3 separate regions of the Homo sapiens genome follow, and regions 1 and 2 are each linked to region 3. The links are contacts of gene promoters, found by promoter capture Hi-C in human tissues and cell types (Jung and others, 2019). All regions are on one chromosome and are shown on one strand. Each heading gives the region's core, a stretch centred on a gene start or on the middle of the fragment in contact. The rest is flanking DNA. Distances are from core to core; before and after follow the strand shown.

Region 1 (2,700 bases), core at 50-2,549, 270 kb after region 3:
ACGCAGTCTCCTGCACCGGAGAGAGAACAGTAATGTCAATAAATCAAGGAGGTGGCCAGGCGCGGTGGCTCACGCCTATAATCCCAGCACTTTGGGAGGCCGAGGTGGGCGGATCATCTGAGGTCAGAAGTTCAAGACCAATCTGGGCAACATGATGAAACCCTATCTCTACAAAAAATACAAGTAGCCAGGCATGGTGGCGCACGCCTGTAGTCCCAGCTACTTGGGAGGCTGAGGCAGCAGGATTGCTTGAGCCCAGGAGGCAGAGGTTGCAGTGAGCTGAGATCACTCCAGCCTGCACTCCAGCCTGGGCGACACAGCAAGACCCTGTCAAATCAATAAATCAATAAATCAATAAGGAGGTCTTTCTTTCCCCAGAGCCACAGGCAGGGACTGGGGTGGAGCTGGAGCTGGGCATCCTGACGCCAATTCCAGCCTCCAGCCTGGCCTCTGGTCAGGACACACACACCATCCCCAGGATCTGCCCCAGCTGCAAGACGCCAGCTCTGGGACTGACCACCCATGTTCACTGGCATCCACTGTGCCCCCCGCCCCCAGGCTCCATGCTCACTGGATGCTTCAGGCAAACACCAGGCCCCAACGCTAAAACTTCTGTGACCAACTTTCTAAAAATGAGCCTGGAAAGCAGCTTCCGGGAGAAGGTGAGGTTTCCGAGGAGAATCTGAAGTCCTCTGATCTGCTGGTGATACCTGGGGGGCTCTGGGCCAGGCAAACTGTAGCCCTCTGAGAGCTCCGCCTGGGCGTCACGGTGGCCCCTCCGTGGCCCGTGCAAAGCCCCTGAGCCGGCTGCATCAGACCCGCTGGACAACAGGCCACACAGGCAGGTCGCCCTGTGCCCCACGCCCCACACGCCTGGGTGACCGTGCCAGGCCAGCCCTGACGTCTGCCCCGCATGGAGCGCTGCGGAAGACCCGCGGAGCCGTGGCTGGCTCTGCGGCTGGGGGTCTCGGGGGAAGCACAGGGACGCAGTCCAACGGTGGACAGAAGGAAGGCGCGGTGGGGGACCCACGAGGGGGTTTTGTCGAGCGCAGGCCTGCGGCTCCTGGGGGGTTCCCGTTGAGGTGCCACGCCGAGCCACCTGTTCATTACTCTGCATTCTCACCAAAAGTTGTCCAAAAGATATTCCTTAGCCAAAAACGCCACATTACATACACCGGCCCAGGAACTCACACCCACACTTACTGCTGGGCCCGCTTATTTGTCTAGAAGCCCTCTCGCCTGTTGGAGCAGAAACAACATTATGTTAGGAACCAGCTTCCATCTCACACCAGTCATCAACTCCAGGAGACCCGAAAGCACAGCAGCGGAACTGAGGGAACACGATGGCAGCGTGGATCCGATCACGGGGGCCCAGCCTCCCTCCCACACCCCGACTTCCTCTCGGAGGCATCCGTGGCCTTCAACCGGCTCTTCAGGCCCCACCTGCTCCACACACTTCCCCTCACTGTCCAGACCTCAAAGGGGGCTTAACTGCAATTGATTCATGTACAGATTCCTACACTTCCTGTTTCCCAATCAAAAGAGTATTTATTTCCAAGACAGCTGATCCCACAGCTGAACTACCATTTGCTGGTAGAAAGGTAATTCTGAAGAATTTTTTAAAACCCTAGCAATTAACAGAGCAAGTCTTGGGGCCTCCCCACCATCCTCCCACAGGACTCAGCCCTGAACTGGCTGCTCAGCCAGTGACGGAGCCCAGAGCTGCGCCACACGGGGTACTAGAGCCAGATCACCGGAAGGTTCTAGATGAAACGGGGCAGGAAAGGGGAGGCGGACCTCACAGGTCTCTGTGTGCAAGTCCTCAGGGGCCGTAGCCCTTGACGTTTCTGTGACGGGGGCCCAGGCGTGAGGGGAAGTGAGGAAGAGGAGGAGACTCCGCCCACAGCGAGAGCAGGAAGTGCATGCAGAGGCCCACGGACGCCTGGGGCACCCGAGGGCCTTTATTTAAACTGAAGTATTGCAATAAAACCTGATTCGATGAGGCAAAGAAACACCATAAAGCTTTATTAAAAAACAAAAAGGGCTCACCTAAGCATGCGTTTTCCCTGATCAAACAAATGACAAAACGAAAGCTCAAATGCTTGAATTTCATTAGGATCCCTCGCCCAGGTCCTTGGAGGGCGGGTAGTGGATAAAGTTCCCTTGTTCCTCCTAGAAGAAGGGCAAGGTGTGGGGTCAAGCTGCCCCCAGAGGCCAAGCCCCACACGCCGGGGGCCACTGTCCTGGCTGTGAGCCCCTCCCTCCCAGCTCCCAATGAATTTGGTTTCATGACCCACCTAAACCGTATTCAAATCTGAGTTATTTAACTATTCAAAGGGATCATATTTACATGAAGGGAAAATATTCCCAGTAACTTTCTTGACGATTCTGAGGCGCTTGGGCTGATTCATGTCACGTCAGACACCACCACAGAGCTCGGTGACCCCACTCCCTGGCTGCCGTGTCGGAGGGCCTGGCTCTTTGCCAAGGAGGATTCACTAAATGACAGTGCAGGTGAGCAGGGAGACAGCTGGATTCTAAGCAATGATCGCGGAGAGCACATTCAAAATCCCTTAACGGAAGGTCATGGCATGGCCCCTCTGCTGAAAGTGCCACCTCCTCACTTTTGAGTCCCCTGATCCTCACCGGCTCGCTCAGCCATCAGGTGCCCCACGACACACAGGTGGTTTGGGGGTGCTA
Region 2 (2,700 bases), core at 25-2,524, 320 kb after region 3:
TTCTCAGAGTTTCAGGTGACTGAAGTTTTCTGGGGTGGATTTTTTTCTTGGTGACATCACTGCAAAAATAGTCTATGGACCCTAGGGACAGACACATGTTATCACTTTTCAGGGATAATTCTGAAATCCACAACTACTGACAAACTTGGAAATACACAGGAAACATGCAGCCCATGGGTTCCCCAGCTTTGGAATGCTATTTCTGCAGCAGGTGCAGTGACGCTGTCCGGGGGAGCCTTTCTACAGAAATTACACAGTGAGATCTTCTCTGACATTTGGTGAGCTCACTTCACAAAAGTTCCACAAATGGTTAGAATATCTTTTACAATTCTAATTGTATGTATGATATTAGAGCTTTATTGCAAACATTTGAGAAATTTTTTTCCCTGAGATGTTTTTCCCCTTTTGAAGTTTAACTCAAAGAGAAAATGCCAACAACAATTAGGAGACATAAAAAACATCTTCAAGGACAGAGAATCGTTTTTCACAAAATGCCTGGAAATGCCTCCTGACTGGCCTGTTTCTCACTCGTGTAAAATGCTAGATGTGGGTGCTAGTCGTGAGGCAGACAGCTTGCCTGAGGCCCGTACCTTGGTGAGGTCCTTGTACAGCTCCGGGTAGAGCATCGCCATCTCTGGCTTCACGTCCTGGTCCAGCACTAAGGAGAACACTGGGAACATGGTGTATATGGTGGCATACCTGCAAGACCAAGAGCGGAGTGCAATGGGCGTGAGAAACTTCTACCACACAGCTAGAAACAGACCTCTGGATTAGAGGTCACAGCTTCAAAAACACCAAAAAATACTCCACAAAAACCAACAAAGTAAGTTGGCAACCAAGTAAGATGATTGCGGAGACTGAGTATTTATCTCAGAGCACAGTAGCATGTTCTATAAGTCACAAATGCTTACGGGTAGAAGAATGATTTTTAAAAATGTTTACCTTTCTATGTTGAGATCATTGTAGACTCACATGCAGTTGTCAGGAATAGCACCGAGATCTTATGTGATCTTTACCCAGTTCTCCCAATGGTAACATCTTAGATAACTGTAGTGTGAACCTCACCACCAGCATCCACACGGACACCTCCAGACCCAGAGCACCCCTCACACAGGGTCCCTCACACAGACACCTCCAGACCCACAGCACCCCTCACACAGAGTCCCTCACACAGACACCTCCAGACCCAGGGCACCCCTCACACAGACACCTCCAGACCCAGAGCACCCCTCACACAGGGTCCCTCACACGGACACCTCCAGACCCAGGACACCCCTCACACAGACACCTCCAGACCCAGAGCATCCCTCACACAGGGTCCCTCACACGGACACCTCCAGACCCAGGGCACCCCTCACACAGACACCTCCAGACCCAGAGCACCCCTCACACAGGGTCCCTCACACGGACACCTCCAGACCCAGGGCACCCCTCACACAGACACCTCCAGACCCAGAGCATCCCTCACACAGGGTCCCTCACACAGACACCTCCAGACCCAGAGCATCCCTCACACAGGGTCCCTCACACGGACACCTCCAGACCCAGGACACCCCTCACACAGACATCTCCAGACCCAGAGCACCCCTCACACAGGGTCCCTCACACGGACACCTCCAGACCCAGAGCACCCCTCACACAGACACCTCCAGACCCAGGGCACCCCTCACACAGGGTCCCTCACACGGACACCTCCAGACCCAGGGCACCCCTCACACAGACACCTCCAGACCCAGGGCACCCCTCACACAGGGTCCCTCACACGGACACCTCCAGACCCAGGGCACCCCTCACACAGACACCTCCAGACCCAGAGCACCCCTCACACAGGGTCCCTCACACGGACACCTCCAGACCCAGGGCACCCCTCACACAGACACCTCCAGACCCAGAGCATCCCTCACATAGGGTCCCTCACACGGACACCTCCAGACCCAGGGCACCCCTCACACAGACACCTCCAGACCCAGGGCACCCCTCACACAGGGTCCCTCACACGGACACCTCCAGACCCAGGGCACCCCTCACACAGACACCTCCAGACCCAGAGCATCCCTCACACAGGGTCCCTCACACGGACACCTCCAGACCCAGAGCATCCCTCACACAGGGTCCCTCACACGGACACCTCCAGACCCAGGACACCCCTCACACAGACACCTCCAGACCCAGAGCACCCCTCACACAGGGTCCCTCACACGGACACCTCCAGACCCAGGGCACCCCTCACACAGACACCTCCAGACCCAGAGCACCCCTCACACAGGGTCCCTCACACAGACACCTCCAGACCCAGAGCATCCCTCACACAGGGTCCCTCACACGGACACCTCCAGACCCAGGACACCCCTCACACAGACACCTCCAGACCCAGAGCACCCCTCACACAGGGTCCCTCACACAGACACCTCCAGACCCAGGGCACCCCTCACACAGACACCTCCAGACCCAGAGCATCCCTCACACAGGGTCCCTCACACGGACACCTCCAGACCCAGGACACCCCTCACACAGACACCTCCAGACCCAGGGCACCCCTCACACAGGGTCCCTCACACGGACACCTCCAGACCCAGGGCACCCCTCACACAGACACCTCCAGACCCAGAGCATCCCTCACACAGGGTCCCTCACACAGACACCTCCAGACCCAGGACACCCCTCACACAGGGTCCCTCACACGGACACCTCCAGACCCAG
Region 3 (2,700 bases), core at 110-2,609:
AAGATCCTCAACAAACACAGGGTCAGGGCAAGCCAAAGGGACGAGGAGCCGCGGCTGCCGAGGAGGGAAGAGAGTGGCATCCCCAGAAGGAGCGGCACCTTTCCCAGAGGGAGCTCACGCCCGGCCCACTGCGGGCTGGAGTGTCCACCTCTCCCTGGAGTTTCTGTTCTCACAATCAAAACTACCAGAGCCAGGCGCACACGCGTGTCCACTTGCCCGCCCATCCCAGAACACAAGGGTAGATTCAAACATGGCTGGACACTTCGGTGCTACGGAAACATATCCCCTTCTGGGGTCAGAGCACAGCTACTGAGAGCTGTGGAGTCTGTCACAACGCCCACGTCACCCTGAAGCAGCCTGCGACAATGCCCACTGTGGTCAACCACGGGGCTACTGCCTTCGCTGCAGGCCTGGGTTCCGCCCGTTCCTTAGCCACGAAACAGAACTGCACCAGGTTTTACAACTGCGTTTCACAAAGTTTACAAAAATTTAAAGATGTGCACACACCCAACAGTTTATATTTCAATAACAGGTCTGGAGCCTGCCTGATGACTCTTGTGCTCACAGCCACCCATGAGTTTTCCTAAGTCACAAAGGTGGAGCTAAAGGAAGGGGCGGGGACTATCACTGCAGAAAGAAAGAAACAAACATAGCTTTTCCAAACAGTAACTTCGTGTCGCTACGCAGGACCCTTTCCTTTTATCTCAAAATGCTCCCCGTTGGTAAAACCACAGGTGGTGACTATCCAGTTTTAGGGGAGAAGCGCAGTGCCTGCGTCCCGCTTTATCGCTCCCTCACCAGGGGCGCCCCTGCCCACCGCGGACGCAGCAGCCCGGGGGTCCTCCAGGATCCCTCCCCGGAGCCGCCCGCCCTCGGCCCCGCCCGGCTCAGCACACTCACCCTGGGGCGACCACCTGGCCCGGCTGCGCGCACAGCTCCCGCACCACGCCCGCGCGCTCCGACCTCAGCCTGCGTTCCGGCCGCGCGGGGCGCACGCAGCCCCCGGAGGCTACACGGGACTGAGAGGCCCCGGAGGACTGCGCGGAGGCGGCGGCCTCGAACACGGCCAGCACCGAGCCGATGCGCACGGCCGCGCCCGCCGCCACCCTCCACTCCAGCAGGCGCAGCGGCGCGGGCCCCGGGCAGCGCACCTCGGCCACAGCCGCCGTCGGGGCGCCCTCGGCAGGAACGCGACCCGCGGCCGGCACCTCCATCGCGGACAGAGGGCGGGCGGGCGGTCGGTACGGGGCCTGCGCTGCGCTCAGAGCGCAGCGCCTACCGCGGCGACACAACCCAGGCGGCGACGCTGTAGTTCCTCTCGGTACCGGCTTCCACCCGTCGCCTAGCCCGCGCCGACTTCCTGGAGGGCGCGTGACGTCACGCAAGGGCGCCGCGTACGTGCGTACGTGCGCGTGTAAATACGAGCGCCGCGCGGGGCCGGAGCCGGCTCCGTCCTGGGACCAACCCTGCGTGCCGGCCGTGAAGAACTGCGTTCCTGAGCCCTACCTACTTTTCCTCGGAGCGCCGGCACCGTGGAGCAGCGGCATGCAACGCGGGCCGCTGTCGCCCAGTCCCAGTGACGGTCTTGGCGCGCTCGGAACTACGTATCCCGGCGTGCACCGCGGACAGAGCATGGCGGGACTACGAGTCCCAGCGTTCAACGCAGGCCTGCGTGCCATTACCCCATCACGCGCTGAGACCCAGCATCCCGAGACTACGAGTTCCGGCATGCACCGCGAGCCGCTCTCCTCCACTCCCATCGCGCACTGTGAGTCGCAACGTCGCGGGACTACGGGTCCCGGCATGCCTTGCGCGCCGCGGGCCCAGAGACGTGAGGCTGTCGGCGTCCTGGTGGCCCCGCCTCGTGTCCCCCCCCGGACCCCACGCCGCGGGAGCTTGGGGGTTGCGGTCTTCTCTTCCTCCGACCTCACCTTCGATGCGGAAGCGCAGGGGCAGGTGCGCCGCCCTCGGCCCGCGCAGGCGGTGGGCCCGTCTGGGGCAAGGCGCCCGGAAGCGCCTGGTTGGTTCAGAAAATCGGACCGCAGCGGGAGGGCGGGCACCGGCGCGTGGTCTCAGTGGCCCCAGGCGAACCCTGATGAGCAGCAGCCGCAAGTGGCTTACTAAAGGAGCCACTTTCTACGTTTGTCTGGAATTTACGTGAATTAAGCTGGCGGGCGGGCGGCCAGGCCTGTAGTCTCAGCACTTTGGGAGGCTCAGCACTTCGGGAGGCTGTGGCGGGCGGATCACCTGAGCCTGGGAGTTGGAGACCAGCCTGCGCAACGTAGCAAGACCCTATCTCTAAAACAGATTCATTAATACTTAGCCAGGCGCGGTGGCTGAGGTCCCAGCTACTCGGCAGGCCCAGGCTGGCCTGAGCCAGACCGCTCTGGACTGTTTTAATTTTTTCAGCCTTAATACCTGCCAGAATTTTTTTTTTACTATGTATCTTTGTCCTTACGTATATAAATTTTATATACAATTGAGATTATCCTGTATTTGCTTTTCCCCCCTCACTTTTATATGGTGACTTTTCTCATGTTAGGCTGAATACTAACATTTTGGAAACTGTCGGCCTGAAAACGAGCGGAGACACAGTTTCTCTAAGTAGAGAGTTTATTTGGGCCACACTTGAGCACAAATTCAAGGCGCCCTGAATGTGTACTCCGATTAGCAGTTAACAGTGGATTTTAAAGGCAAAAA

The links. The method cuts DNA at HindIII sites, captures the fragments that hold promoters and counts their contacts. A contact is called where the count stands out against the background at its distance.
Region 1: a contact is called between a fragment that was not itself captured here and the fragment with the promoter of CTDP1 in region 3, in 3 of the 25 tissues and cell types used here (dorsolateral prefrontal cortex, mesendoderm cells and spleen).
Region 2: a contact is called between a fragment that was not itself captured here and the fragment with the promoter of CTDP1 in region 3, in 4 of the 25 tissues and cell types used here (H1 embryonic stem cells, dorsolateral prefrontal cortex, lymphoblastoid cells and 1 more).

What each region holds. Positions count from the first base shown.
Region 1 is chr18:79,405,098-79,407,797 of GRCh38, reverse strand. The region is part of intron 1 of NFATC1 (nuclear factor of activated T cells 1); the gene reads right to left. Among named protein-coding and RNA genes, the nearest start is that of NFATC1, 11 kb to the right of the region's middle. RefSeq lists a silencer at 217-378 and enhancers at 401-994, 2,185-2,700. The HindIII fragment of the contact is 7,440 bases long and covers 1-2,700 here.
Region 2 is chr18:79,357,353-79,360,052 of GRCh38, reverse strand. ATP9B (ATPase phospholipid transporting 9B (putative)) reads right to left here. Exons shown (of 30, transcript NM_198531.5): 26 at 591-699. Among named protein-coding and RNA genes, the nearest start is that of NFATC1, 37 kb to the left of the region's middle. The HindIII fragment of the contact is 5,046 bases long and covers 1-2,700 here.
Region 3 is chr18:79,678,462-79,681,161 of GRCh38, reverse strand. It overlaps CTDP1 (CTD phosphatase subunit 1), which reads right to left and starts at 1,359. Exons shown (of 13, transcript NM_004715.5): 1 at 901-1,359. The coding sequence starts at 1,214. It overlaps CTDP1-DT (CTDP1 divergent transcript), which reads left to right and starts at 1,417. Exons shown (of 5, transcript NR_136643.1): 1 at 1,417-1,768. RefSeq lists enhancers at 1,218-1,726, 1,727-2,234. The HindIII fragment of the contact is 29,025 bases long and covers 1-2,700 here.